6 separate regions of the Homo sapiens genome follow, and regions 2, 3, 4, 5 and 6 are each linked to region 1. Evidence: promoter capture Hi-C in 16 types of primary human blood cells and fetal thymus (Javierre and others, 2016). All regions are on one chromosome and are shown on one strand. Each heading gives the region's core, a stretch centred on a gene start or on the middle of the fragment in contact. The rest is flanking DNA. Distances are from core to core; before and after follow the strand shown. Region 1 holds the start of LARS2-AS1 (LARS2 antisense RNA 1). Region 2 overlaps SACM1L (SAC1 like phosphatidylinositide phosphatase). Region 3 overlaps SACM1L (SAC1 like phosphatidylinositide phosphatase). Region 4 overlaps SACM1L (SAC1 like phosphatidylinositide phosphatase). Region 5 overlaps LIMD1 (LIM domain containing 1). Region 6 overlaps LIMD1 (LIM domain containing 1).

Evidence for each region. The method cuts DNA at HindIII sites, captures the fragments that hold promoters and counts their contacts. A CHiCAGO score of 5 or more calls a contact.
Region 2: a contact is called between a fragment that was not itself captured here and the fragment with the promoter of LARS2-AS1 in region 1, in 5 of 17 cell types (M1 macrophages, naive B cells, megakaryocytes and 2 more). The highest score is 6.6, in M1 macrophages.
Region 3: a contact is called between a fragment that was not itself captured here and the fragment with the promoter of LARS2-AS1 in region 1, in 4 of 17 cell types (naive B cells, megakaryocytes, M2 macrophages and 1 more). The highest score is 5.7, in naive B cells.
Region 4: a fragment that was not itself captured here is called in contact with the fragment with the promoter of LARS2-AS1 in region 1 in 7 of 17 cell types (endothelial precursors, monocytes, M0 macrophages and 4 more); the score reaches 9.8 in endothelial precursors.
Region 5: a contact is called between a fragment that was not itself captured here and the fragment with the promoter of LARS2-AS1 in region 1, in 9 of 17 cell types (M0 macrophages, M2 macrophages, monocytes and 6 more). The highest score is 15.8, in M0 macrophages.
Region 6: a fragment that was not itself captured here is called in contact with the fragment with the promoter of LARS2-AS1 in region 1 in 11 of 17 cell types (total B cells, megakaryocytes, naive B cells and 8 more); the score reaches 11.0 in total B cells.

The regions. Positions count from the first base shown.
Region 1 is chr3:45,507,247-45,512,244 of GRCh38, forward strand. LARS2-AS1 (LARS2 antisense RNA 1) reads right to left here and starts at 2,299. Exons shown (of 4, transcript NR_048543.1): 1 at 2,111-2,299. The region is part of intron 15 of LARS2 (leucyl-tRNA synthetase 2, mitochondrial); the gene reads left to right. RefSeq lists an enhancer at 678-1,544 and a silencer at 2,371-2,665. The HindIII fragment of the contact is 1,698 bases long and covers 1,104-2,801 here.
Region 2 is chr3:45,729,291-45,734,288 of GRCh38, forward strand. It overlaps SACM1L (SAC1 like phosphatidylinositide phosphatase), which reads left to right. Exons shown (of 20, transcript NM_014016.5): 12 at 2,011-2,090; 13 at 2,763-2,861. Among named protein-coding and RNA genes, the nearest start is that of SACM1L, 42 kb to the left of the region's middle. The HindIII fragment of the contact is 3,076 bases long and covers 1,453-4,528 here.
Region 3 is chr3:45,711,929-45,716,926 of GRCh38, forward strand. It overlaps SACM1L (SAC1 like phosphatidylinositide phosphatase), which reads left to right. Exons shown (of 20, transcript NM_014016.5): 6 at 1,209-1,268; 7 at 2,118-2,151. Among named protein-coding and RNA genes, the nearest start is that of SACM1L, 25 kb to the left of the region's middle. The HindIII fragment of the contact is 2,021 bases long and covers 1,311-3,331 here.
Region 4 is chr3:45,691,681-45,696,678 of GRCh38, forward strand. The region is part of intron 1 of SACM1L (SAC1 like phosphatidylinositide phosphatase); the gene reads left to right. Among named protein-coding and RNA genes, the nearest start is that of SACM1L, 4.8 kb to the left of the region's middle. RefSeq lists an enhancer at 2,465-2,604. The HindIII fragment of the contact is 781 bases long and covers 1,511-2,291 here.
Region 5 is chr3:45,668,710-45,673,707 of GRCh38, forward strand. LIMD1 (LIM domain containing 1) reads left to right here. Exons shown (of 8, transcript NM_014240.3): 5 at 3,981-4,111; 6 at 4,745-4,796. Among named protein-coding and RNA genes, the nearest start is that of LIMD1-AS1, 18 kb to the right of the region's middle. The HindIII fragment of the contact is 418 bases long and covers 2,078-2,495 here.
Region 6 is chr3:45,649,748-45,654,745 of GRCh38, forward strand. The region is part of intron 2 of LIMD1 (LIM domain containing 1); the gene reads left to right. Among named protein-coding and RNA genes, the nearest start is that of LIMD1-AS1, 37 kb to the right of the region's middle. The HindIII fragment of the contact is 3,703 bases long and covers 568-4,270 here.

The sequences.
Region 1 (4,998 bases), core at 1,049-3,548:
AAAATTTCCCTCACTGGCAAATATAAATTATTCAGCAGTGAGATGCCATCTTCCATGTAGTAAGGAAGCTAGCATAAGAGCAGCTCTCATATATTGCAGGAAGTAGCTTGGAACAATCTTTCTGAAAAGCAGTTTGGCAATACATAGTGAGAGCCTTAAAACTATTCATTTTTGGGTGCACTAATTGCACTGCTAAAAATCTATCCTAAGGAAATAATCAGAAATGCAAACTTATGCACCAAGATGTTCATGTAAGTGTTATTTCAAGTAGCTAAAAATTTGGATACAATCTAAATGCCCCAAAATGCTGAGACAGGGTAAATAAAGTATAATCCATCTACGTGGAGCACACTTATACAACACTTTCAATTAAATTACAAAGAATGTTTAATAACATGGAGAAATTCATCTGAAGTAATGAGAAATAGAAAAAGCAAGATACAGCTTGGTTATCTTTGTCTTTATATATACAAGCACATATATACACATACTCAAAGCAAGAGAAAAGACTTGAAAAACTCATGCCAACATGTTAACACTAGCTATCTCTGGGTGGTGAGCCCAATATACTTCTGATTTTTTCCAGATTTTTTACAATGATTGTGTAACTTTATCATTTACAGTATGGTATATATTCCAAAGAAGGAAAATATGCTGAGCCTCCTGCTGTGGTTGTGGGTGTGGGGTAGGATCAGCTTTCAGCTTCCCTCCTTCCGGTGGTTAGCACCAGGTTGAAAGAGAGGGGGCACATTAGAGCGTGGGAACATGTCATGGCCCATCTTCACTGAATGAGATCAGGAAGCCTTTTCTCTCCCTTTGTGGGAGACCGCTGTAAACATGGAATCTTGTCACTTTTTGTTGTAGCTCTGTAATGCAACTTAGACACTAAATTCCCCAAACTGAATTTCTCCCTTCAGTTTGGAATCAACAGAAAGTGGTGGCTGTCAGAAGCAAGCAGCTGCTCAGGGAGCTCCCATGAGAAGGGCAGGCCGCCTGCTGACCGTGGAGAGCACAGCAAGCCCCTATCCACAGAGCTTTCTTCTCTGTTACTCTGATCATGCCAGAAACGGGGCTACTGGGAAAAGGAACAGGAAGGGAAGAGAAGCTTTACTTGGGTCCTGCTGTATTAGTAAACCCTCCTTCTGCGCCACTAACTGGCTGCTAGGAAATGGGAATGGTGATATTTCAAGAATGAGCCATGGCTAATACTTAGAAACTAGGCTAATTATGTGACATGATGGCCCTGGGCACAGAACAAGGAAGAAGAGGAAGGTAAACTTAGTCTGATTTAATGAAAAGTCCAATTTGGAGACCATTTTCAGAGATCTATGGCCTTCAAAGATCTGCAGCCTGGCAGGCCACTCTCGCACCAGGTCAGGGGAGTGGGCAGCAGGCTCTCTGGGGCTTCATGAATAGGTAAATGTCATCTGCAGCAAGAAGGTGGGGCTCTGATACATCCTGATATTCTTTGCTCATACTGTAATTAGCACATTCCTTGTATATAGTGATTTTTTTAAGAGCACTTAACATGGCCAATCAATCAATGTTCTGAATTTCCTTGTTTATCCTAATAATTAGCAACTCCCTTCCTTCCCTCCCTTCCTCCCTCTCCTCCCTCCCTACCTTTCCTCCCCTCTTTCCCTGCCTCCCTCCCTTCCTTCTTTCCTTCTTCCAAGTGGGACAAATGTGGCCTTCAATGCCCAGCAGCTATCAGTTGTTGCAATTTCTGAGTTAGTGCAGTCTAAACTAATGAAGAAATTGTGAAGATCTCCCCCCAGTTTTCATCACTGTGCTTACATATAGCTGTGCTTCAGTGCAAGCAAGCATGATCTACCTCCAGGGATGTACCGAAGGAGTAGGAAGAAAGCTGACTCAGAAATCCAGGGCCTTCTTCAAGGCAGAGGCCCTGCCTAATACTCCCGCGTTTGATGGTCCCTGAGTCAGAACGGTTTGTTAGTGGTTTAGAGTTGCAGATTTTCCACTCACTTATAAAGGCCCCTGCTGTGCACAGTCACTATGATGAATGAATAACTCAGTTGCATACGCAAGTCTGTTCCCAAGTACCATCTGTTGAGTGAATGAATGAGTGAACAAAAGGGAAACACATTACCCCAATTGTGAATCTGAATAATGAACTTGGCAATGTGATGTGATCTCTGCTCCAGCAGGCCTGGGTTCCAAGTCCAGCAGGGCCCTTGATGTCCTTTGTCCTTCATTCCTGTGCACCTTGCGCCTCCAAATCACATTTGGTACGTCTTTCTTGTAGTGCTGATGGTTATTTATGAGCATGTCCTGGGCTGCCTGTTCTTATTGTAAGCTCTCCAATTAATTGCCTAGTGCTGTGTACCCAATTATCATGTAAATACATGTTGAATGAATAAACAAGTGTGACTCATTCAGAGCTAAACTACGCATGAGAGTAGACATGGCCAGCTTCAGCCAAGAGTGAAAACCAGATTCCCAACTCCCTATAGCCCATTCCCTGGCTCCCTGGAAAAGTGGAGGGAAAACACTTGGGAATGAGCAGGATTCTAGGAGCTGGGAAGCGCCCCTTTCCCCACTGGGAAATTCCATGTGAGCACTCATCGGGGCATTCCCCTGCTCTCATTCTCTTGCTTCAGCTGCTTGGGATCTTTCAATGCACCCCTCCCTGCAAAAAGATGGTGGCACTAGCTGGAAAGTATAGCATCCAGTGCCCCACTTCACTCATTTCTTTCTTCCCTCCTCTCTTGCCTCCACTTTGTCCTACTCACATTATCCCCCACCCCTGCTGCTGGTAGGTTTATTCATCCACTGAAACAAGCTTGATTGAGTTCAAGGCAATTAACATTACTGAGCATCTGTTAGGAACTGGAGACTGAGAGTGGCCTTTAAGGATTTTCAAGGCCAGGAGCAGTGGCTCATGCCTGTAATCCCAGCATTTTGGGAGGCCGAGGCAGGAGGATTGCTTGAGCTCAGGAGTTCAAGACCAGCCTGGGCAACATAGTGAGACTTCATCTCTACCAAAAATACAAAAAATTAGCTGGGTGTGGTAGTGCGCGCCTGTGGTCCCAGCTGCTTGCAGGGGTAAGGTGGGAATATCACTTGAGCCCAGGAGACTGAGGCTGCAGTGAGCTGTGATTGTGCCACTGCACCCCAGCCTGGGTGACAGAACAAGACCCTGTCTCAAAAAAAAATCATCCTCCTACTCCTCACAGGAGAAAGACAGGCAAGCAGCTTACCTAAATACACAATAAAATGTAATAGCTGCTAGATACAATTACAGGCACTACACAGGATGCATCAGGAAGGAAAAAACAACTAATTCTAATTCTGACCAGGAGATACCTTCTCAGTGGAGATGGCATTTGAGTTGAGCCAGGAAGGAGGACTAGAGTTTTGATAACAGTTTGGGAAATGGCGTGAGTAAAGACGTGGAAGCACATGCAGGCAACATTTGAAAGAGCAGAGGGAGTGGCAGGGGACAGGGAGAAGTCCTGGATGGCTATGCGGAGGAATTTGGACTTGATTGGGAGGAGGAGCTCTTCAAATATGACTGCACTCTTTCTTTTCCTCCCTCACAGCTCTGAGAGTTGTCAGGCATTGGTTTGGTTCAGTGATCGTAAACAGGCTGGCTCCCCAAGGGCAGAGATTGCTTTGCCCAACATTATATCCCCAGTGCCTAGCTCAGTGCCAGGCACATAGCAAGCACTCAAGAAATACCAAAGAAATAAGTGATACATTTCACATAATAACTCTGTGCTTTCTGATTATATGGTACGAAGAAGAATTCAGAGACTCGTTCTGAGCACCAGGAGTGCTGCTGTCGATGAATGGTGTCTGGGTGGTTGTAGGCAAGGGCACTGGGGATAGTTGGCTAGGTTTTGCCATCCCTGCTCTAGATGATCCATCTGAGATGGCCCCTGCTGCACTGCAACCCTCAGAGAAGACAGTCCAGAAGAGCTTCAACTGTCAAGTTTCATTGTTGGAAGCTTTCAGACATTAGGATATATTCATGTAACTAGCAGGTCTTGGTGTGGGTGCACTGCTGAGGACCTGCCTGCCAGTTCTGGGGAAAGCCTCCCATGTGGACATCCCCTGAGAGCTCTCACTAAGAAATGGCTACAAGCGGGTTAGAAACAGGCAGATGAAATAATAGTGTTAGCAGTCAGGCTATAGGGGCCCATAGTGAGGAGACAGTGCCTAGAAGCGGATGGAAGGTTGATTTCACGTTCTGCTAATTGGGCTGAATGCCAGTTACACAAGTGTGTTTTATATTGTGAAGATTCATCATTATACCGCTAGGACTTACACTTTTCAATATGTGTGCTATACCTCAACAGTTTACCTTAAAAAAAAAAAAGTTATAAAAGACGAGGCAAAAGTTGCAGCCTTAGGCTGAACAGCTGGGGTTAGTCAGTTTTTCGCAGGTTGCAATTCTGTCCGTTCTCGGAAGGTGGCAGTGTTGTGCCACTTGATAAAATACAAGACCTAAGAATAGGATTCCTTGGATTCCCAGCCCCTTCTTGAGGCTTAATGCTGCTGATTTTTTTTTTTTTTTTTTTTTTTGGAGACAGAGTCTCGCTCTGTCTCCCAGGCTGGGGTGCAGTGGCGTGATCTCGGCCCACTGCAACCTCCGCTTCCTGGGCTCAAGCAACCCCTGCCTCAGCCTCCCAAGCAGCGGGGACTACAGGTGCGCGCCCCCACACCTGGCCAACTTTTTGTATTTTAGTAGAGACGGGGTTTCACCATGTTGCCCAGGCCAGTCTCAAACTTTGAGCTCAGGCAATCCACCTGCCTCGGCCTCCCAAAGCGCTAGGATTACAAGCGTGAGCCACCGCGCCTGGCCAATGCTGCTGATTTTGATCATCCTACCTATCTTTATCTTTGAATCCAGATCATTCTCTCCTAACTTTTGCCCTAAAAACACCTTTAAAAATTTACCTTGAGCAACCAAAGCCATGTACTGGTGATGTTTGTGGGGAACATCACTGGATCTCCAGGAAATGAGTGCTCCTA
Region 2 (4,998 bases), core at 1,741-4,240, 220 kb after region 1:
GCCAGGCTAGTCTCGAACTCCTGACCTCAAGTGATCTGCCCACCTCGGCCTCCCAAAGTGCTGGGATTACAGGTGTGAGCTACTATGCCCAGCCTGTTGGAAATTTTTATATCTCTGTATAGCTGCAAGTTACTGTGTAGCATCCTTTCATTTCAACCTGAAGGACTCCCTTTAGCATTTCTTACAGATTGGGTTTAATGATAATGAACTACCTCAGGTTTTGTTTATCTAGGAATGTCTTAATTTTTCCTTCATTTTTAAAGGACGTTTTGCCAGATACAGAATCCTTGGTTGACAGTTTTTTCTTCTTCCAGCATTTAAAATATATGATCCCACTGTCTTCAGCCTCCAAGATTTCTAATGAGAAATTGGCGGATAATCCCATTGAGAATCTCTTGTGTGTGATGAGTCTCCTCTCTCTTGCTGCTTTTCAGGATTCCGTTTTTGTCTTTCAGCTATGTGATTATAATGTTTTTGGTGTGGGTCTCCTTAGAGTTCAGAGCTTGGGTTTGTAGATTCATATGTTTCATCACATTTGGGAAGGTTTTGGCTATTTTTTTTTTCTTCAAATAATCTGTCTCTGCCTTTCTCTCTCTCTTCCTGGAATTCCCATAGTGCTAAATATTTTATTTCACTTTTTGTACTCTTTTGCTCCAGAATTATTTTTTGGCTTCTTATAATAATTTTTCTATCTTTGTTGATATCCTCATTTTGTTTATGTATTGTTTTCCTGATTTCTTTTAGTTGTTTGTCTGTGTTTCCCCTTAGCTCTTTGAGTGTTTTTAAGACAGTTGCTTTAAAGTCTTTGTCTAATAAGTCTAGTCTTTGTCTAATAAGCCAAGTCCTGTCTTGGCTTCCACAGGAACAGTTTCTGTCAATTTCTTATGTTCCATTGAATGAGTCATGTTTTTCTGTTTATTTTTGTACCTGTGATTTTTTTTTTAATTATATGTTTGATTATTATAATATCATAACTCTGGAAGTCAGAGTCTCCTTTTCCCCTACGGTTTGCTGGGGTTTTTTTTGTTTTATTTGATTGTTAAAGACTCTGCTAATCCATTTTTTTTTTTTTTGAGACTTTTCCAAACTATTTTTGCCAAAACTTTCTTATTGTGTATGTTCACTGAGGTCTGTTCCTTTTGCTTCTATTCAGCTGTTTTGACAGGTTTCATTGAATTCCAAGAACTGAAATAGACAAACTAACAAAAAAAGAAAGCAAAAATGAGAGAACAACCCTGTCCCCCATTCTTTGCAGACTTGCTGTATGCTGGGGCAGTCCTTTGCTGAGTAGCCAGGCTTGCTGTGAGCCTAGGGATCAGTCTGTGGTAAAGGTTTAAGGTCTTCTCAGGACTCTTTTCAGCATGCATCTTGCCTGGTTATGTGGGTGGCCTTCAAAACTCCTTCATATACATGGCTGCTTTTGAAAGTCCTAATTTCCTAAGAATATCACCAAGCTTCTTCTCCAGCCTTTAGATGGTCTATTGTATGTCTCCATCCAGAATTTTTTGCCTCAGGCATCCATTGGTTTATGTTCCTCTTGTAGCTTTTACAAACAGTGGTCACCATTTTTACTGCCCGTGTTCAGAGATACGTGGGACAGAGATGAGTTAGTCCTTCATGTTACAACAGATGTACACAATTATATGCAAATAAGGTCTGGTCTGCCTCCTCTAGTTTGATGAGGGGAACTGAGAACCCGGTTATTCCCTTGTAAGACTAAGGTTGTCACCACTCTGAGGAGGGGCTGGGTCAAGGACAAGTTAAATGCCACAAAACTTTCCCACCATTTTGAAAGTGACTTTTACTTTATTGGGTGCTTGGGTGGGTTACTATAAAACCTTTAATCGTTTTTCAGAGCTCCTACAAAGTTGGCTCAGACAGCTTCTGGGTTTTTTTGATGTTTCTGTGGGAGAATGATGAGAGCTTAGAGCTTCCTAGTTTGTCCTTTTTCTGATACCATTCTCTCCTTTGAAATAAACTGGAAACTATGGTGTTTGAAATTTTTTACAGATTAACCAGAAGGGCTCGGAGAAGCCACTTGAGCAGACATTTGCAACAATGGTGTCTTCCTTGGGAAGTGGAATGATGAGGTACCTCACTAGAAATCTGTTGCAGGTCTTTTCAGATCAGATGTGCACTTACATATATGCATGATTACATAGAGCTCACTAGACATATGTTTCAGCTTGCATTTTTTTCAATAGTAGATCAAAGCATGATATTTTGTTGGCTTGAAATTTCTCTAGCATAATTTATGTTGCAGAATAACTTCTTTTCAGTCAAGTTTTGAGTTTAGTCTCTGATTAAAATTCCCTCATTGAGGCTTTGTGCTCCAGAGAGTTTCCATAGATAATACTTTGCCACTAGAATTGCCTTAAGGAATTTGGACTAGGCCTCTTTGCAGTGCATACCTGATTGCTGTACTTGAGCTTACTTCACTACCATTTGTTGTGTTTCTCCTCTACTCCTCCTGAGGGCCCCAGAAGAACCTGTGAGGATAGATATATATGCATATATTTTCATGTTTATATCTGCACATATCATATATATATTTTTTCCTCTGCTAGGTATGAGCATGAGAAGGGGTGTGTGTGTGCATGTAGTATATGTATAGTGATAAACCCAGAGTGAAGGAGGTTCTAGTGTTCCCAAGAAATATGTATGCACTGATATAAAGAGGAAAATCAGCTTATGAAGGTATTATTAATAGAAGGAAAATGAATGATCTCTGGTCGGTTTCTGAATATCTTTTCTTTTGGTAGATACATTGCCTTTGACTTCCATAAGGAATGTAAAAATATGAGATGGGATCGACTAAGTATTTTATTGGATCAGGTAGCAGAAATGCAAGATGAATTAAGGTAAGCTATATTATTTCCTTAAGGAGGTAGAGGGAAGAGGTATATATATCAGTCATATTTTATTATGCGTCATCCAGCAGACTTACAAGTACAGTTCACTGGATTGTCATTGCTTGTCTGTACTATTTTATTATTTTTAATTTCTTTACTGGAAAGATGAGACTTGGTGACTTCAAAATATTTTTGAATTCTTAAAAATGACCCAAGGCCAGATATCTTCATATTTTTATAAATTATCTACCATACATTTACAAATTTTTGTATAATTGAACTTGGTTTACTACTATTTTGTATTGTCGTTTCCACTAGACATTCTATCACAAGTATTTTGTTGTTAACCTGTACAGCGTCTGTAATGATAGTGTTTAATGGCTTTTCTATATTCTGTTTTATCATAACATAGTTCTAAGAAAGTGCTTTTCTTCACCCTGAGCACCTGGTTTATTTCCTTTCCTCTTTCTATCATGAAAGATTGTGGTGCCATGAATCATTATATATATTTTACATCTGTTAAATTTATTTCTTTAAAAAAATTCTTCAGAGTAGGATTAATGGATCAAAGGGTCTGAATGTCTTTGCAGTACTATATTATCATATTGGTTCAGGTTTACCATACTCTATGCGTGCCAGTCTTTACCGATTTTAAAGCCAGAAGAAGGAATCTGTAAATCGTACTACCATTTTCTTCTGCCTGTGTGTGATGGTTCTAAACCTGGCAATCCAAATGCACTTTTTAATTTGTTACACAATAATATAGTAAAACCTCTTGGATAGACATTTGCTCAGTTTTCAAAAATATCTTTTTATATACATTAGGTAATCAACTACAGTTATTTAAATCTGCTTTTTTTCTGTGACGTTTTGCCATGAACACAGAAGGGAAATTGACCTCCTGTTGTTGGGCAATTAGAGAAAACATTGGCTGGCCCTGGCATGTTGTTGGAGGAGGTAGTTCCTTGGGTTCACCCATTAACTGCTGCCGTACAAGAGTGTAAGAAAGAAGGAGAGTTGACTCCAGAGTTTGTGTTCGTTGCTGTTCACTGTGGTCCACAGGGAGAGCAGAGCTTTCACTGGTGACTTTCAGATGATCTCTCGAGACTTTTTTCTAAGGGTTTTGGGGGTAGTGGGAAGAATCTGGGCTTTGGGATCCAACACACCTTGGTTTGAATTTAAGTTTTTCTCTTAGTAGTAATATGACCCAGGGCCACTTAGTTATCTTCAGACTTCGGTTTCTTCATTTGTAAAGTGAAGATGATAACTTACTGTATAGTTTAAGCGATAATGTTTATAACATATCTAGGATTTTATAAGTATTCATGGGGTACGGACACACACACCCTTGCACACACATATATATGTACACCAACTCTAAACGAACCTTACCAATTCTGCATGATCCATATGTAGATTTTTCATCCTAACACATTCTTCCACGCTTTTGTTCCTGAGGTCATGATTTGTATTTAGCCCTTGATGAATCTGTTGCATTTTCTTCCTCCTTTTGGATTTTGGAGAATAGTTTCAATAGTTAACATTATCCAGTATTCGTTGTTTGCTGTGTTCCATACACTGTGCTAAGTACTTTATGTGCATTATGTGTTATCTCATTCAAACCTTAGAGAAGCCTAATGGTGGTGCTGCTGTTACCTCCATTTTGTGGATGAAAAAGCTTACTATTTAAAGTTCTAGAGTTAGTAAGTTGCGTATGATGCTAAGGCTAGCAAACAGATAGTTTGCTTCCTGCATCCATATTCTTAACCACCACACTGTGTGTTGTCAGATTTTTGAATTCATAGAATTATCAAGGAGCTTGTTAAAGAAAACATGGGAACTGGTAACTGTGGTTGGTTGCAGTGCAGACATCTGGATGTTTAAGGGGAGGAAGGGAAACTGATTTTTCAAATAATACCCAATTGTTCTTTATAAATCTTGTACTATTTGCATGTATTACCCATTTAAGAATTTTTTTTTTTTTTTTTGGCTGGGGGCTGTGGCTCACGCCTGTAATCCCAGCACTTTGGGAAGCCAAGGCAGACGGATCACCTGAGGTCAGGAGTTCAAGACCAGCTTGGCCAACATGTCAAAACCCTATCTGTACTAAAAATACAAAAATTAGCCAGGCATGGTGGTGGGTGCC
Region 3 (4,998 bases), core at 1,071-3,570, 200 kb after region 1:
AGCAGTTTTGTTTTAGCAACTTGCCTCTTATCAAGTTACATTCCAAATCATTTAACTTTATAGAAACAGCAGTGTGTTTTTCATCTTATTTCATTGGTTTATAAAATAGTTAAACTATATAATGATGAAATAATAATAAGTATGACTGGTACAAATTCAGGAACACACACTTGAATCTCAGGAAGTGCGATTCAGCTGGTTGTGGTCAAGTGCAAAAGCCATTCCCTGTGACTTTTAGAGTCGGCGGTGCTGGTGGTTCAGTTGGTATGCTTCATAAATAGAATTGATTAATCTACTGAGTAGAGTCAGTTATTTTGTTTGTTTTTTCTTTTTTGAGACAGAGTCTTGCTCTGTCACCTATCCTGGAGTGCAGTGGCACGATCTTGGCTCATTGCAGCCTCCACCTCCCAGGTTCCAGTGATTCTTGTGCCTTAGCCTCCCCAAGTAACTGGGACTACAGACACGTGCTACCACGTCTGACTAATTTTTGCATCTTTAGTAGAGACATGTCGGCCAGGCTGGTCTCGAACTCCTAAGTCTCAAGTGATCCGCCTGCCTTGGCCTCTCAAAGTGCTGGGATTATAGGCATGAGCCACCACGTCTGGCCCTAAGTAGAGTTGATTAAATATAGATTGTTGAGGGAGCCTCTTCTGTATTTATGAAAGTTGGAGTGGCCAGAGATGAGATCAGAGAGTTAATTAGGGGCTGCCAGATCCTAGGACTGATTAGGCCATGCAGAGATTTGGTTCTTTAGATGACAGAGTCATTGAAGAATTTTGAGCAGATAGGAGACAGGACATGTTAGAGAACTCCTGCTGGTAGCATTGTGGAAAAATGAGTGGCGAGGGCTAATGCCTAAACTGGAGGCAAGGGAAGGTGTGTTAGTTAGGCTGGAGTCAGATGTTGGTAAAGATAGTGGGAGTAGAAATGTAAAAAATATGGATTTTGAAGGAGATTTAGTACTTGACAATTAAATGTAAGGGAAAGAAATACCGTAAAACTCCTCCCAGGTTTCTGTCTGGCCTGAGACAATGAGACAGAAATGCCCACAGGAGGTACAGATTTGCGGGGGAGATGTATTTTGTTTGAGGCCTGTCAAAGAAACTGGCTTCTAGCCATCAGAAAGAGACATTGATTGGTGTAGTTTTCTTTCTGTAGAAAGTAAGCTTGGCAGGAGATATTTTATTAAATTTTAAAACTTCTCTCAGGCAGATCAGCGGTTTGTATGGAATGGTCATCTTCTAAGAGAACTTTCTGCACAGCCAGAGGTAATGTACACGAAATAAAATCTGCTTAATTGTTACAGTCCAAGCTTTAATTCAATGCATGCTATAAAGTGACTTCCTAATCACCAAGAATTTCGAGAAACAATTCTAATTTAACTGTTTATAACTTACAAACTTGGATCAGGTCTACCCTGTCACATCATTCTAGGTTGAAGAAGCCTAACTATTTTACTCTGATCTTCTATAGAAGCCTTAAATAAAAATACATTGCTTTGTCTAACTAAGAGAGATACAGGGGATCTTGGTACATGGATAATGGAGAAATGAGGGGCCAGGGCCAAGTTTCCTGGCCAAGGGGAGAGCTCTTTTTTGTCTTCCTTTGGGGATGAGACTCCCTTCAGTCACCCAGGAGAGACATGCACAGGCACCGCCCTCTTCTGTCCTTTGTCTACACATATGAGGTATAAACAGGGAGGCCCAGCTAGGGAAACATGATATATTATTGAATCTAGGTAAATAGATGTGTCTAATTGCTTTATTTCTTGTCATTTGCTATGCTTTTTTTGGAAAAGTAGTTTGAGCTGCAAACAATTAGCATGGGATATCTTTTCCCTGGAGGAGTGAAGTTGTTGTAGGCAAAGACTGAAAAGGAGGTAAACATTCTGTAACTTCATGTAGCTTTATTAGTGTTCCAAAATCTGTGAATATTCAAGCTCAAATGATTGTAATGCATACTTAATGTTACATTAGAGAAATCTTTTAAAAATTATATTACCCATAAGTTTACTACCTTGTTATGTTTGTATATTACCTCCCTATGTGTAAATATTTTTATATAATGCTTATTTATTTTTAAAGTATATTTATTCTAAATATATATCTTCATTTCAGGTTCATCGGTTTGCCCTTCCAGTGTTACATGGCTGTATCCTTACATGATATTACTCTTTAGTTTCTAGATGCCTTTATTTAAATTTTATTATAAGGCAGATTTAGAGATAGTCTCAAATACTCCATAAGGAGAGTATTTCAGAATTAATATAAATTGCTGTTGATAAGAAAATCAAACTCATTGCTATTTTGTTTGTTTTTTTTTTTTTTAGAATGAACTTTTCAGACTATACGATTCTCTCTCTGTTCAAGAGTTCTGGGGTTGGTTGTTTAAAGAAAAGGAATATGTGTACTGTATTTTGCCTTTATTTGATGTTACCTTTTATCAGTAAATTACACATAAGTAGTTTGGACCTGGCTGTTGAAAACTTTCCTAAGTACATAATTTAAAAAGTTAGACTTAGGCCGGGCATGGTGGCTTGCACCTCTAGTCCCAGTTACTCAGGAGGCTGAGGTGGGAGGATGACTTGAGCCCAGGAGTTTGAGGCTGCAGTGAGCTGTGATGGCACCACTGCACTCCAGCCTGGGTGACAGGGTCAAAAAAAGTGAGACTCAGACACTAGTGTGGGTAACAAGTTGGAGAGGAGAATTACCATTAAAAATTTTGTCATTTGAAATAGTGACAGATAAATGAAAATAAGTAGAGTACAAAGAATATTGCCTAAGGGAGAAATCAGAGTACAGATACAAAATGAGTAATGATTATCTAATTGTAGGTTCATGTTAAAAACAGATCTATGTCATAGACATCATAATAAAAATAAAGCAGCCAAGTGAGCTGGCTCTTAAAGGATATATAAGCACAATATGCTCATGAGTGCCTATCCAGTTATGTGCCACATACTGACATTTCAGTCGGTGACAGACCACATATATGAAGGTGGTCCTATAAGATTATAATACCATATTTCTACTGTATCTTTTCTATGTTTAGATATGTTGAGATACACAAATACCATTGTGTTACAGTTGCCTACAGTATTTAGTACAGTAACATGCTATACAGGTTTGTAGCTAAGGAGCGATGGGCTATACCGTGTAGCCTAGGTGTGTAGTAGGCTGTGCCATCTAGGTTTGTGTAAGTACACTCTATAATGTATAGAATTGCCTAACGATGCATTTCTCAGAATGTACCCCTATTAAGTGATGCATGACTGTAATCAGGATTGTGCCCTGAAGAAAACGGTGATGACATCTATCAAGCACATGTAAGAAGCTTATCAATACAAGTCTATTATTTATTTATTCAGTATGTTAATATAATTTCACTAAACTTAATGCTTGTTATACTTAAAGAAAACCCAAAAAGTAATGGAGGAAACATGTTCCACAGTTATGGGGAAATAAAAATTAGAAAATTTCATGATAAAAGCTCATTTATTTTTGTTTCCCCACCCCGAGCTTTCCAAGTTCTCCTAAGGATAAAATAAGAATAAATGTGTTTATTCAGCCGGGTGCAGTGGCTCATGCCTGTAATCCCAGCACTTTGGGAGGCCAAGGCCGGCAGATCATGAGGTCAGGAGTTCGAGACCAGTCTGGACAACATGGTGAAACCCTGTCTCTACTGAAAATACAAAAATTAGCTGGGCGTGGTGGCTCACACCTGTAATGCCAGCTACTCGGGAGACTGAGGAAGGAATATTGCTTGAACCCAGGAGACGGAGGTTGCAGTGAGCCGAGATCGTGCCACTGCACTCCAGCCTGGATGACACAGCAAGACTCCATCTCAAAAAAAAAAAAAAAGTGTTTATCCTTATTTAGTGCCTTAAATGATTTGGGCCAACTATGGTGTTTTTTGTTTTTTGTTTTTTTTTCAAAATGAGATTGTGAATGGACAAACAATATTAAGTGAGATTATAGAACCTTTTTTTCTAGGCAATTTTAGAAACAGCTTACTCATTTACCTTTAAATTGAAAGCTTTAAATGAGCTTTTCTTTAGTGTAGTTTGTTGACTAGAAGTAAAATCATATGTTTCACACACATACAGAGACATTAATAAGTAAAATGACCCCAAGACAGGAACATGACTGGAATAGAGAGTGGACAGAGAGGCGGGAGCTGTGTTCAGAGAATTAGCTCAGCCCAGATGACTCAGGGCCTTATAAGCCATGGGAAGAACTGTGGCTTTTACTTTAAATGTGATGGGGCCAGGCATAGTGGCGCATGTCTGTAATCTCAGTGCCTTGGGAGGCTGAAGCAGGAGGATCCTTTGAGGCCAGGAGTTCAAGACCAGCCTGGAGAACATAGTGAGACCCTGTCTCTACAAAAATTTTTTAAAAATTAGGCATGGTAGCATGTGCCTGTAGTCCCACCTGCTCAGGAGGCTGAGTCAGGAGGATCACTTGACCCCATTTTGAAGCTTCAGTGAGCTATGATCACACCACTGTGTTCTAGCCTGGGTGACAGCGCAAGACCTCTACTCAAAAGATTTTGGAGAAGGGGAAAATTGGTGAAGGTGCATGCTAGAGTGATATCCAAGAATGTGTGAGGTGGGTGGGGGTCAGCGCACAGGTAGAGGGCCTGGTGTGGGCTGCTCACCTACCACTGTAGAAGGGAAGCAGATAGATGGATGTGGTTGCTGATGGGTGTGTAAATGTGATCGGGGCCTGTGGAGGGCTTTTATTTTTACAGCACCATATAAAGTGTCATAATGGGCCATGAGGGGGATGAGGGAGAAATGTTGCATGTTGAGGGGAGTATGTGAAATGCCATCCTGGAGAGAAGGCATGGATGGCCCTGGGAGTAACTGATTGATGAAAGACTAGAAGTAAATACACTCACATTTTAAAAGTTATGCTGATGGGATTCAGTTTTTATTTTACTCTTGTTCCTTCCATGCTTTCTGGATTCTCTAAAGTGTGTAGATGTTTTTGTCTTGTA
Region 4 (4,998 bases), core at 651-3,150, 180 kb after region 1:
CATAGCTCACTGCAGCCTCTAACTCCTAGTCTCAAGCGAGCCTCCCACCTCAGCCTCTCGAGGAGCTAGGACTACAGATGCACACCACCACACCTGTCCTACTTCGGATTTTAAATAATAATTCTGTCTGCATTATGCCATGCTTTTTCTCCAGCCCATCTCTGCCTTGTTGAATTTCACCTTTCTAATGCTCTGGTTTTATCCTCTACTTTCCTGCTTACAATTTCCAGTTCCATCTTACTGACCTATAGGATCAAACTTGCATTTCTTAGCCATCTGTATATTCTAGCCTTTTTATAATCTGTCGCCTAATTTATTTCCCGTAACTGCCCAGAGCCTTTTCCCCACTTCTGCAAAACTTGGCTCATCCCCTTCTAGCTTCAAACTTGGGTGTTATTTTGATCCTTCTACCCAGAATGCCTTCTTCCTCTCTGTTCTCTTTACATACTGGTCACATCCATGGTAGAGCCAAGAGATCTCAGGTTTTGTTAGTCAGAATGGATATGGATTCATATCTTAACTTGACTACTTGTTTTGTGTCCTGGGCATAGTACTTAATCCTTCTGAATTGGTGTTTCAGTCTGTAAAATGGGAATGTTGATACTTCACAGGATTATTGTAAGGTTTGAAAGAGAGTTTTTTTTTTTTTTTATTATTTTTGTGAGACAGGGTCTCACTTGTCACCCAGGCTGGAGTGCAGTGGTGTGAGCTCAGCTCACTGCAGCCTCAGCCTCCCAGGCTCAAGTGATCCTCTCACCTCAGCCCCCAAAGCATCTGGGACTACAGGTGCACATCACCATGTCTGGCTGATTTTTTCTGTTTTTCAGTTTCGCCATGTTGCTGAAACTTGAACTCCTCGTCTTAAGTGATCCATGCACCCTGGCCTCCCAAAGTGCTGGAATTACTGGCATGAGCCACCATGCCTGGCCCAAAGAGAGTTTAGATGAAGTACTTAGTGTACCTCATAGGTACCTTCTTTGAGAAATGTTTTCTTTCCATGTCTTTTCCTTCACTGAGTTCTGGTAACAGTTTTTAAAGCCAAAAATGAAAAATTATTGTAACAGGGTTAGACACCAAATGTTTACATGATTTATGTATTCTGTCTCTTAGGATCAGTTTACAGTGCATTTACTTTCTCATGGACAAGAGGATGGAAAGCTAGAATGGTCAATCCATAGTACTGTTTGAACCACTCATTTTGTCACTTAGAAATGAAATCATTATGTACACCGTTATGTGACTCTTACTGACAGAGATACATTCTGAGAAATATGTTAGAAATATGTTAGGCAACTTCTTTGTACAAACATCAGAGTATAATTACACAAACCTAGATGGTACAGCCTACTACACACCTAGGCTATATGGAATAGCCAGTTGTTCCTAGGCTACAAACCTGTACAGCAGGTTACTGTACTGAATACTGTAGGCAGTTGCAACACAATGGTAAAGATTTGTGTATGTATACATACATAAACAAGAAAAGGTACAGTAAATATACGGTATTATAAGCTTATAGGACCACCATCATATGTGTAGTCTGTCGTTGACCAAAGCATTGTTACATGGCACATGGCTGTACTTTGTTTCTCCAACCAGTTTACACCTTAACATTTTCTTCTCTAGTCCTCCTCAGTACCTAACATAGAGCCTTGTGCAGAGCAGCTCCTCAGTGAATCAACTGAGTAAATGAAAGGAACTTTCCAGTATAGACCACGTACTAGCACTGCAAAAAGAACACAGTCTAGGGTAATTTGGAATGTATCGTTTTGAAGAAACACAGCTTAAAAGTCATTTCATGTATATTGTCTTCCCAGTGTCTCTGTGAGGTCATAGGTTGATAGGTATCCTGTCATTGTTGAAAACAGTCTCATAATTGCCCTTGGCCACAAAGTCAGATCATACAGCCAAGCCATGGTAGAGCTAGCCTTGGAATACGGCTGGTCCAGAGTCCAGTGATCTTTCCATTTCATTGCATTATCCATATGACCTTTTTTTCTCTTACCAGATTGCTCTCGCATTAGTCCTCAGACATGCCAGGTATTGAAATGAGTCACTTACAACCAAATATAGTTGACATGTCCATATTAATTTCCATATGTTTAATGTGGAAAACAGAATATTGATTTGCTCAGAATTTAAAATTCATACTTTTTAAACTTCCAGGCAGTTCTAAATATCCTGTTAGGCTCCATTTTTCTTTTTAAGCCATTTGTATAGGCATGGATAATGTCAGACAGTGATAAATTTGAAATTGCAAAATAATTAGACTGGAAATGTAATTTTTAAGAAGCTTATCTATCCCTGTATATAAGCTAAAATACCTTGGCAGTTCGGCGTAGGTGTCACATTTCCTTTGCAGGGAAATGACATCAAATGTGGTTTGGGCACTTCTTAGGCCCCTCAGACCTCAAGCTCATAATAACTTTCTAAAAGGTTCAGTGGAAAGTTAGAGGTGCAAAATTATTGGATACATTTAAAGCATTTTTTCTTCTTTTTTTTTCTTTTTCTTTTAAAAGGTCAGTTGAAACTAGGTGTAAGGCAGGGAATCCTTTAGTTACTGCATCAGGCTGCAGCATGCCTCTGAAGAGTACTGTTTCCTCAGGAAATTGCCATTTTTAAAAGAGTCTCATAACTGTGAGGTCATCAGTCAGGGCAGATATGATCCAACCTTGAAAACAGATGTAACCTAAGCTACCTTGTGATACAGACACATATAATCTGTTCAATATAATGAACATTCATATTATTCACAGAAGTCTCCCGGTGGAGGGAAGGGTGTAGGGCAGCTCAGATTATTCTCATGAGTTTTAGCACAGACAATATGGGGTTTGTATCCAAAGCATTAGTTGGCTGGGAGTTCAGGCTAGTTCAGGCTTACCTAGGCTCACGTGGCTAGCCTAGGTTAGTGCTAGGCTACATCAAATGACTTGGTATGCTTGTTTTAAGTGCGTATTCCAGGGCCCCACATTAGGCCTACTGAGTGAAAATCTCTGGGGATGAGCGGTGGAAATCTGCAAGTTTAACTAGCTATCCTGGTAGTTTTTATGCACTCTGAAATATTTTAGGGCTGGGCATACATAGCTGAGTTAGGACCAGAACATGCTGGTAGAAGAGAATTCTTTGGAAGATATGGGGCTCTGGTAGATTGTGCTGTGGATTAGAGCTTCAGATTAGGTGGAATTTGGACCTAGTCCTGTGAAGAAGTCTGGTTGAGAGAATGGGTTTTAGGGCATTCAGGGAATAGGATATAGGTGGGAACACAGAGTTTTGAGAAAGAGGATAGCATTAGAATGAGTCTTTCTAGAAACACCAACTGGTTTGGAATTGGGTTGTGCCCCTGGGGAGTCTGTGATGAACTTGAGCTATAGGAGAGGCAACCAGGGAGGGCTCAGTGAGGAGATACCCAAAGGGAGGATGAATGGGGGAGGTAGGAGCACCTTCTGCCTATGAGTGTAGTATGTGCAGGGGATCCTTCTTTACTAAGTTGTTTTCTTTTTGCTCACCAAACCTAGTAAAGTGTTGTGCCTCTGTCTTTTCAACCAGAGATGTATTAAATTTGATCATTAAGACCTTGATTTAATTCTTTTTTTTTTTTGAGATGGGGTCTCACTCTGTTGCCCAGGCTGGAGTGCAGTGGCGCAGTCTCGGCTCACCACAACCACCACCTCCCAGGTTCAAGTGATTCTTGTGCCTCAGCCTCCCTTGTAGCTGGGACTACAGGCATGCACCACCAGGCCCGGCTAATTTTTGTATTGTTAGTAGAGACAGAGTTTCACCATGTTGGCCAGGCTGGTCTTGATCTCCTGACCTCAAGTGATCCACCTGCCTCGGCCTCCCAAAGTGTTGGGATTACAGGCATGAGCCACTGCACCCAGCCAAATTCTTTACGTAAGATTTTTGAGGGAATATGTTCTTGCTACAGTTTTATGACATATCACTGTGGCTCCTATGCAAAATAGTGGTTTCATTATTTTTAAAAATTGTGGTAAAATAAAACATTAAATTTACCATCTCAACCATTTTTAAGTATACAGTTCAGGGGCAATAAGCACATTCATGTTGTACAACCGTTATCACCATCCATCACCAGAACCGTTTTCATCTTGCAAAAATAAACTCTGTACCCATTAAACAACTCCCCATTTCTGTATCCTCCCAGCCCCTGGCAACCACCGTTCTACTTTCTGTCTCTATAAATTTGACTTCTCTAGATGCCTCATGAAGTGGCAGTATTTGTCCTTTTATGACTGGTTTATTTCACTTAGCATAATGTCCTTAAGGTTCATCCATTGTGTAGCATGTGTCAGAATTTCCTTTTTTTTTTTTTTTTTTGAGATGGAGTCTCGCTCTGTTGCCTATGCTGGAGTACAGTGGTGCGATCTCGGCCCACTGCAACCTCTGCCTCCTGGGTTCAAGCAATTCTCCTGCCTTAGCCTCCTAAGTAGCTGGGATTTCAGGTGCCTGCCACCACGCCCAGCTACTGTTTTGTATTTTTAGTAGAGACAAGGTTTCACTGCATTTGCCAGGATGGTCTCCATCTCCTGACCTCGTGATCCGCCTGCCTCGTCCTCCCTGAGTGTTGGGATTCCAGGCCTGAGCCACTGTGCCTGGCCCAGAATTTCCTTTCTAAGGCTGAATAATATTCCATTATATGTATGTACCACATTTCGTTTGTTCATTTGTTAATAGACACATAGGTGGCTTCCACCTTTTTGGCTATTGTGAGTAATGCCAGTATGAATGTGAGTATACAAATACCTTTTTGAAACCCTACTTTCAGTTATTTTGAGTATATACCCGGAAGTGGAATTGTTGGGTCATATGGGAATTCTATTTTTAATTTTTAATGGGCCACCATACTGTTTTCCCATAGTGGCTGCACCGTTTTACATTCCCACCCACAAAGCACCAGGATTCCAGTGTCTCCGCATCCTAGCCAACACTCGTTATTTTCTATCCTGGGTTTGTTTTTTTTTTCCTTCTAGATAATAGCCA
Region 5 (4,998 bases), core at 1,037-3,536, 160 kb after region 1:
GCCACTGCACTCCAGCCTGGGCAACAGAGTGAGACTCCACCTCAAAAAAAAAAAAAAAGTCCCTGTAAAGTACAGCTTGCTTGTTCTAATAGAACCCACATTGTTGGCTTTTATTGGAATTAACATCTTTAACCATCTAGAGCACACGCTATCATGTTTCCGATAATGCTTTCTCCTCCTCTGGGCTGTTTGAATCGCACTGGCCTCCCTCTGGCTTCTCTGTGATCCTTGTGGCATCCCAGGTGAGATGCTAAATACAGTCTGTTTTTACTGCAGAAATCTCAGCTACCTTGGAGTCAAATGCAGAAAGCCAGAGGAGCAAAGTTGTTTTTCTCCCTGTGTTATGCCCAGCTCACACCATTACGAAGATGAGTTTTTAGGGCCTGTCATTTAGTTCTGAGACAGCAGAGCAAGGACCAGGTTTTATACATTCCATTCTTTGCTCAGTCACTGGCTCTCTGAGGTTATTTTGGGCTTCAGGTCTTCAGTGGGGACAATTTTTCCCTAGAGGGTTAGGTTATGAGGTTAATGAATACAACATCAAATTGTTCACCATTGGAAACCAGCCTTTAAGAAGTTCTTTAATATACTGATCAGAGGAAATGATTATATAACATACTTTAAGTTGGAAACAGTTAAGTCCCTCTCTAAGCTGACTCATTAATTTCATTCTAGAGAAGATAATTTCTAATTATTAGTATTTTTAATTTTACCTTTTTATTGAGAAATAACTCATAGAGTAAAAGATACTAATCTTAAGTGTACATCTGAACGAGTTTTCACATGTGCATATACCCCTGTAACCACCACCCAGATCAAGATATAGAACACTTCCCAAACTCCAGAAAGTTCCTTCTTGTCTATTCCCACTCAAGACCCCACTCCCACAAAGGCAACCATTATTCCAACTTCTATTGCCAGAAATTCATTTTGCTGGTTTTGGAACTTCATATAAATAGAAACATATAGTATAGACTCTTTCAGGTCTTATTACATATGTTTTTGAGCTTCATCCATGCTGTTACCTGTATTGGTAGTTTATTGATTTGTATTGCTAAGTGGAATTCCATTGTATGGATATAGCACAATTTATTTCTCCATCTCATGTTGATGGGGATTTGGTGGTTTCTAGTTTTTTGCTATTTATGCATGAAGCTGCTGTGAATACTCTTGAACATGTCTTTGATGGACATAAACACTCATTTCTGCTGGTTATATGCTAATATTTATAAAACATCAGTGACCCACAGCCCTCCCCATTCGTGATGAATATCTGCTATCTCCCAGGCTTTGACAGACCTCAGCAGAGGTCTTAGCCCTATTAGAGCCATGTCCTCATTAGTAGCCAAGACCTCCCTGGGAAACGTGGCCCTTCCCCCATGCTCGCAGTGGGAGGTAGGCAGAAGCTACATATGCTTACCTCTCCTTCCCAGGTATCTTCTAGACTCTGTAGGGCTCTATTTCTTTAGCAGAATTTGCCTTTGTTTTTAGTGTCCTTCTGACAAACCTACTTCATATGAAGTCAACATGCTCTGAATTTATGAGTATGATTATACCCTATTCTTAGTTCTAGTAATCCTAAGACTTCTTTGGATAACCTCAGGGTATGTCATTTATCTATTGCTGCATGACAAACCACCCTAAAACTTTGTAGTTTAAAACAATAGTGATTTCTTATTTATCATCATGCTTCATGCTGTGGGTCAGGATTTAGGTCAGGGTTTAGCAGGCCAATTCTTCTGCTCTGTGTGGCATTGGCTGGGGTCTCCTACTTAACTTTGTTCAGCTGGTAGCACAGTTGAACTGGAACATCCAAGATGACCTCTCACCCTCCAGGCCCCTCTCCCTGTAGCCTCTAATCATTCAGTAGTCTAGTTCAGACTTCCTTACAGCAAGAGATAGGAAGTGGAAGCTACCAGTCTTCTTAAGCCTTTGACTCAGAAATCTCAGAACATTGTTTCTTCTGCTTTCTGTTAATTAAAGAAAGTCACAAAGCCAGTTCTGATTCAAGGGGAGGGGGAAATAGTCCCCATCTCTTGATGTGAGATCTCTACCATATGGGATAGTATGAAGTTGAAGCTTCAGTCTTTCAGGTCTTCCCTAGGACTTGAAAACTTTTAGTGAATGTCTAGACAGAACCCCAGCTGTCTAACTCTTTGTGTAAATTGTCTCTCTATATACCCTTTTGTTAATAGAGGGGTACATTCTGGGCTTGCAGGTTAGAACCAGGCATAGTCTCACATAAAAAAAGTATTACAGCTAGTCACAATGCAGCAAAATGGCATCTTTTTCTAATCTTACTTTAGGCACAATGTGGATTAAATTAATTTAAGGATCTCTTTCTGCCAAGACAGCATTCATCTTGGGGAAAATGCATTCCAAGGTCCAAATTGCCAAATGGGTTTTGGAAGCCCAGCCAGTTGTTCTTCCTGTTTTGCCTTACTGCAGATTGAGAGGGCCCTCAAAGGTTAGGGAAACCCAAGAGGGAATGAGGAAGCTTGAAAGCTGAGCATTCAGAGGAAAGCTGGAATAGCACAACGCCCTCCTCTTGCCTTCTTGGCTGGAGCTTGTGCAGTGTGGAGTTATCCGCCTGAGGCTTCCAGGGGAAGGAGCTGTAACACAGCATATCTTTACCCCTGGGTCTCACAGTGTACTGACAAGGCTTCCCCAAATCCAAAATCCCCTTTCTTCAGCCTGTTTGAAGGCTTTCTGTGTGGGCTCCCACTGCTGGATGCTGATGACCGTTCTGTACATTCTTTGCAGATGCATGTTTTGGTGTGACCTTGCTCATGTTGATTCTGTAGTTCAGTTGTTTTTGCTAAGTTTCATGATGCAGGTAATTGCAGAAATGAATCTCCTATTAAGTCAGTGAAGATGCTTTCAACTGCAAATTATAGAAAAAACCCAGACTCAGTTCGAGTTAAACCAATGATCCTCCAACTTTAATATATATCAGAATCACCCTATTAAAATACCAACTGCTGGGCCTTACCCCCAGAGTTTCTGATTCAAGAAATCTGGGATGGGGTCCAAGAATGTGCATTATTAACAAGTTTGCAGGTGATGCTAATGCTGAAGGTCTGGGGCCACACACATTTCGAGGACCACTGACTTCATAGGAATGATATTTTATCTCACCTAAAAAGAGGCTTGGAGGTATGTGGTTCCATGATGAGTTAATTCAGTTACTTACGGACCTCACCAAGGATGTTCTTTCCATCTCTTCTCTTTCCTGCTGTCCATGTCTTGGGTCTGTCCTGGTTTCAGGTTGGCTCTGGCAGTTCCAGGTATCCCATCCAGATCCAGATTAAATGACACTGAGAGGAAGAAGTTTGTGGGGCTTTCCCTCTATTGCGTTTAAAAACAACAACAGAGAAACTTTACTTATTACACTTGGATTTGAGGTCATTGGGTTGAGTCAGAACTTCTAGATTATCATGCTCCAGAGTCAAAGCTGCATAGAAGGGGCATCCAAGAGGCAGAAGTGAAGGGGTTCCTTTTGAGCTCTGCCATTTCCACATGGAATTTCTTTTCATTTTTCCGAGTACTTGCTGCTTCCCAAATCTGGGAAGGATGTATCCTTCTGTGGCCCTGCTTTGCATCGTTTCCCACTTCTTCGTGGTGGATTTTGGCCCTGGGATTGGCCCATCCCTTCCTTACCATCTCTTTCTCTTAAAGAACTATGCAAGAGTTTCCTGTTCTGGGTGAGGGTTGGAAAGGAGCCCTCTTTCCCTGCCAGCTCAGAGACCCTGTGAGAGGCTGCAGGAGAAGGATTCCTGTGTGGTCTCTTCTGTGTATTCATCTAAACAGATTTGCCTTTCCCACCCCATCACCTCTTGCTCTTCTCCTAGGTGAAACTCGGGGGTAAGTGTACTCTGTGTGTGACTGCTCATGTAATCCTTAGGCCTGATGTGTTCCTCTCCCCTTCCACCATCTCATCCTTCCCTATAATCCCCACTGAGTCTTGGTCTCTGCTCCAGATCCTGCAAGCCCTGGGGAAGTCCTACCACCCCGGCTGTTTCCGCTGTGTCATCTGTAATGAGTGTTTGGATGGGGTGCCCTTCACCGTGGACTCAGAGAACAAGATCTACTGTGTCCGAGATTACCACAAGTAAGAAGGGATGGGAGCAGACAGGACCCATTCGTGTAGGCCAAGCTGATCTCAGCAGAGTGAGTGGTGGAAACCGACAAAACTGTGTTTGCCAGCCGCCCTTAGATCACAGTCCAGCAAAGGCTTAATGGTTTTGAGGGGTACAGCAGGGACCTTGGGAGGTTGGTCGATGCCAGTGTTGACAGGAATGGGTTAAAGAATCATGTTTAGTGAAAAAAAAAAAACAACAGAGCACAGAAAAACTAATAATCATATTTGTAGCTAGGCCTCGGGAGGAATCCACCAAGCCCTGTGGCTTCAGCGTTACCTAACTTCACAAGGCCCCTATGCAGTGCTGGTTCCTACCACTCTTGGTTTGCCTGGGCCTGTGCTAGGCACCATGAGAGGTGTAAACAAATCAGTTAGTGCTGTCCCCAGAAGAGTGAGAGGCAGCCAGTGTCCTCATTGCAGCTGGGGAGCAAATACTAAGGCATATTCCACAAAGTGAGCCAGGTACCAGTCATTCTATGAGGGAGGAGAGCAAGGGGCAGGAGGCGGCATGGAGGAAGGCTCCATGTGGATTCCAAGTGCAAGTCTGACTCTGGAATTTGCTCCCAGAAGCAACATTTATTGCTGCTTTGTTTCTCCCCACAGGGTGCTGGCCCCCAAGTGTGCAGCCTGTGGGCTTCCCATCCTTCCACCTGAGGTAAGATGCCCTTCCAGACATGCTCCCAGGGGCTTCTAAGACATGAATATCTCCCTGGGCTCATTTACAAGATCCATGTCCTGTCCTTACAGCTTTTAAGGTATCCTTTTAAAAATCTCAACTCTGGCCTGGTGCAGTGGCTCACGCCTGTAATCCCACCCCTTTTAGGAGGCCCAGGCAGGAAAATTGCTTGAGGCCTGGA
Region 6 (4,998 bases), core at 1,169-3,668, 140 kb after region 1:
AATTATATATTTTATATATATAATTATATATATAAAATATATATATTGCTGGATATAGAATTCTAGCTTGATACTTTTTTGAGTTCCTTGAAGTTTTTTTGTTTTTTTTTTTTTTACTATTTTCTCCCTTTTTTTTTTTAATGAGAAATCTGATATCTCTATTCTCTGTATGTGACATGTTTTTCCCCCATTCTGGCTGCTTTTAAGATTTCATCATTGATTTTGAGAAATTTGATTATGATATCCTTGGTGTGCTTTTCATGTTTCTTGTGCTTAGGGGTTTGTTGAGCTTCTTGGATCTGTGTGTTTGTAGTCAGTCTTCATCAAATCTATTTCTTCACATTCCTCCCCATCCACTAGGGACTCCAATTACTCCAATCTTAGGCATCTTGAAGTTGTCCCAGAGCTCACTTATGCCCATTTCGTTATTTAAAAAGTTCTTTTCCTCTCATTTCATTTTGGACATTTTCTATTGCTGTACCTTTAAATTCACTAATGTTTTCTCTTGCATGGTGTAATCTGCTATTAATCCCATCCAGTGTATTCTCTTTTCTAAAATTTTTAAAAAGCTTTTTGTTATTTATTTATGTATCTTTTTTTAAATTATACTTTAAGTTCTGGGGTACATGTGCACAATGTGCAGTTTTGTTACATAGGTATACATGTGCCATGTTGGCTTACTGTACCCATAAACTCATCATTTACATTAGGTATTTCTCCTAATGCTATCCCTCCCCCAGCCCCCCACCCCCCCCAACAGGCCCCAGTGTGTGATGTCCCCTCCCTGTGTCCACGTGTTCTGATTGTTCAACTCCCACTTATGAGTGAGAACATGCGGTATTTGGTTTTCTGTCCTTGTGATAGTTTGCTGAGAATGATGGTTTCCAGCTTCATCCATGTCCCCAAAAAGGACATGAACTCATCCTTTTTATGGCTGCATAGTATTCCGTGGTGTATATGTTCCACATTTTCTTTATCCAGCCTATTATTGATGGATATTTGGGTTGGTTCCAAGTCTTTGCTATTTTGAATAGTGCCGCAATAAACATAACGTGTGCGTGTGTCTTTATAGCAGCATGATTTATAATCCTTTGGGTATATGCCCAGTAATGGGATGGCTGGGTCAAATGGTATTTCTAGTTGTACATCCTTGAGGAATTGCCACGCTGTCTTCCACAATGGTTGAACTAATTTACACTCCCACCAACAGTGTAAAAGCGTTCCTGTTTCCCACATCCTCTCCAGCGTCTGTTGTTTCCTGACTTTTTAATAATCGCCATTCTAACTGACATGAGATGGTATCTCATTGTGGTTTTGATTTGCATTTCTCTGATGACCAGTGATGATGAGCATTTTTTCATATGTCTGTTGGCTGCATAAATGTCTTCTTTTGAGAAGTGTCTGTTCATATCCTTTGCACACTTTTTGATGGGGTTGTTGTTTTCTTGTAAATTTGTTTAAGTCCTTTGTAGATTCTGGATATTAGCCCTTTATCAGATGGGTAGATTGTAGAAATTTTCTCCCATTCTGTAGGTTGCCTGTTCACTCTGATGGTAGTTTCTTTTGCTGTGCAGAAGCTCTTTAGTTTAATTAGATCCCATTTGTCTATTTTGGCTTTTGTTGCCATTGCTTTTGGTGTTTTAGTTATGAAGTCCTTGCCTGTGCGTGTGTCCTGAATGGTACTGCCTAGATTTTATTCTAGGGTTTTTATGGTTTTTGGTCTTACATTTAAGTCCTTAATCCATCTTGAGTTAATTTTTGTGTAAGGTGGAAGGAAGGGATCCAGTTTCAGCTTTCTACATATGGCTAGCCAGTTTTCCCAGCACCATTAAGTAGGGAATCCTTTCTCCATTGCTTGTTTTTGTCAAGTTTGTCAAAGATCAGATGGTTATTTTTTTTTTTAAGATGGAGTCTTGCCCCCATTGTGCAGGCTGGAGTGTAGTGGCATGATCTCAGCTCAGTGCAACCTCCACCTCCCGGGTTCAAGCGATTCTCCTTCCTCAGCCTTCCAAGTAGCTGGGATTACAGGCATGCACCACATGCCTGGCTAATTTTTGTATTTTTAGTAGAGACAGGGTTTTGCCACGTTGGCCAGGCTGGTCTCAAACTCCTGACCTCAGGTGATCCACCTGCCTCGGCCTCCCAAAGTGCTAGGATTATAGGCGTGAGCCACCGCACCCGGCCTGTTATTTATTTTGAGACAGAGTCTTGCTCTGCTGCCCAGGCTGGAGTGCAATGGTGTGATCTCGGCTCACTGCAACCTCCGCCTCCCAGGTTCCAGCGATTCTCACGGGTCAGCCTCCTAAGTAGCTGGGATTACAGGCATGAGCCACCATGCCTGGCTAATTTTTGTATTTTTAGTAGAGGTGGAGTTTTACTATGTTGGCCAGGCTGATCTCAAACTCCTGTCCTCAAGTGATACGCCTTCCTTGGCCTCCCTAAGTGCTGGCATTACAGGTGAGAGCCACCATGCCCGGCCAGCCAATGTATTGTTTATCTCAGACATTTTGGTTTTCATCTCTAGCAGCTCAGTTTGAGCCTTTTAAATATTTTCCATGTTGCTACTTAACATTTCCAACATATTGAATATAGAAACAATAGCTTTTAATGTCCTTCTCTGCTAATTCTAATATCTGTGTCTGATCGGGGTTGATTTCCATAGATTGATTATTCTCTTCCCTGTGGGTTGTGCTTTCCTGCCTCTTTGCATGCCTGGGAATATTTGATTGGCTGCCAGACATTGTAAACTTTACCTTTTTGAGTCTTGGATATTTTGTATTCTTTCAATCTTCTGAGCATTGTTCTGGGATGCTGTTAAATTATTTAGGAACAGTGATTCTTTCTAGTCTTGCTTTTATGATTTATTAGATGAATTCAAAGCAGAGCTCAGTCTAGGGCTCTATTATTCCTCATTCTCAGGGCTGGTGGGAATAGGCACTGTTTCCAGCTTTTGTGGGTGCCAGGCACTGTTCTTGCGAATCCTGCAGATGTTTGTCCTCTGACTTTGGTTAGTTTCCTCACAGGCAAGAGCTGATCCATGCTCTGCTGAACACTTAACGGAGACCCTCTGCACATCTCTGGGTTGTCTCTGTGTGCAGTATTCTCATCTCTGATCCAGACGATAATAGCCTGGAATAGGGGAAATGGAAAACTAACTATAAGACAAAGACTTTGGAGTGGCACGTGAGAAGAGAATTGGAGCGTGAGGCAGCAGTGCTCAGAACATGGTCCTTGGCCAGCACCAGCAAAGGCCGAGAAAGAGATGAGAACGTTTAGAGACCTTCCTAAGAGTTTGACAGAGTGGCTTTGTGTCAGTTGAATTGGATAATAACTACAGTTGGGGCTTGGATTTTATGTTTCATTTTTCTATATTATTGTATTTTACAAGATAATAAGTCTGACAGATGGAAATTAAAAACAAAAGCCTCCCATACCTAGCCCTTTGCCACAGATAAACTGAGAAGGAAGGAGTGATGTAGGGGATTTGGATGAGGAGGGAGAGAGGGTGGTGGTTATGATTCTTAGCTCTGGTGGGTGTCATTTGAGGAAACGGAAGGTCAGGTAGGGATGCTGGCAACAGTCACACCAGATGCCTGGTATGAGGTGCACTGGGCTGCGTTCCCTACTGTGATCCCACTTTTATCCTTACCAGGGAACCTGAAGGGTTTGGGTGACAGCCAGGGTCTCATTTCAGGGAAGGGGCAAAGGCAAGGTTGGACCCCAAGCCTGAGTGCTTTTCCACTTTGCCCCTTTCTGCTGTGCTCCTTGGCTTACTGAGGCTTGGCAAGCCTGCAAAATCGAGGCTGGATCTCTCCTTCACTTGAGCCAAACCAAATTGATTTGTTTTTAGCAATATCTTTTAAGAGTTAACCTATTCTGGGGCTGGGTGTTGTGGCCTATGCCTCTAATCCTAGCACTTTGGGAGGCTGAGGTAGCCAGATCACCTGAGGTCAGGAATTCAAGACCAACCTGGCCAACATGGTGAAACCCCATCTCTACTAAAAATACAAAAATTACCTGGGAGTGATGGTGCATGCCTGTAGTCCCAGCTACTCAGGAGGCTGAGCCAGGAGGATGGCTTGAATCCAGAAGGCGGAGGTTGCTGTGAGCCAAGATTGCACCACTGCACTCCAGCCTGAGTGACGGAGCAAGACTGTCTCAAAAAAAAAAAAAAAAAAAGAAAAAGAAAAAAAAAAAAGAACCTATTCTAGAAAAGCTATTTGAAGAAGTAGATTGGTTAGAATTTTGTGCGATGATGCAGATATTCTAAAGCTTCCCTAGTCACAAGTGGCCATCAAGTACTCAAGATATACTTGTTCAAGCCCTGGCGCTAAATTTTTGATGTTATCTTAATTGATTTAAACTTACATAAATAACCACATGTGGCTAGTAGCCACCATGGACAGTACAGGTAGAAGTCACTAACTGGGACAGTACAATCAAAACAATCCAAGTGACTACTGATTTTTACTTTCTTTTCTCGGAAACTCTTCTCATTGTTGGGAAACCCTTGCATTTTTACTTCTCAGGGAGATATTTTGGAACTGAAATTTGTGGTGGAGTCTTACCGCCAAGGACCAGTTATGTTTCCAGAATAGGTTATAGCTTATTTCTATTTTATAGGGAAGGAAGAGTGGTGAGTATTATTGCACGTTTTAGTTTTGTCAGATTAAATGGCTGACCTCTCTTTGTGATGTCCTTAACTCTTGTTTCCTTTGTTAAACTACACCGGCTTTATCAGATGCATTTTTCTCTTTTAAACTGAGGATGGCTTGAAGGCAAATATAAAATACTCATTCACGGCCTGCAGGTGGCTCACACCTGTAATCCCAGCACTGTGGGAGGCTGAGGCAGGTGAATAGCTTGAACCCCGGAGTTTGAGACCAGCCTGGGCAACATGGTGAAACCCCGTCTCTACTAAAAATACACACAAAAAATTAGCCAGTCATGGTGGCATCCACGTGTGTTCCCAGCTACTCAAGGCTGAGGTGGGAGGAT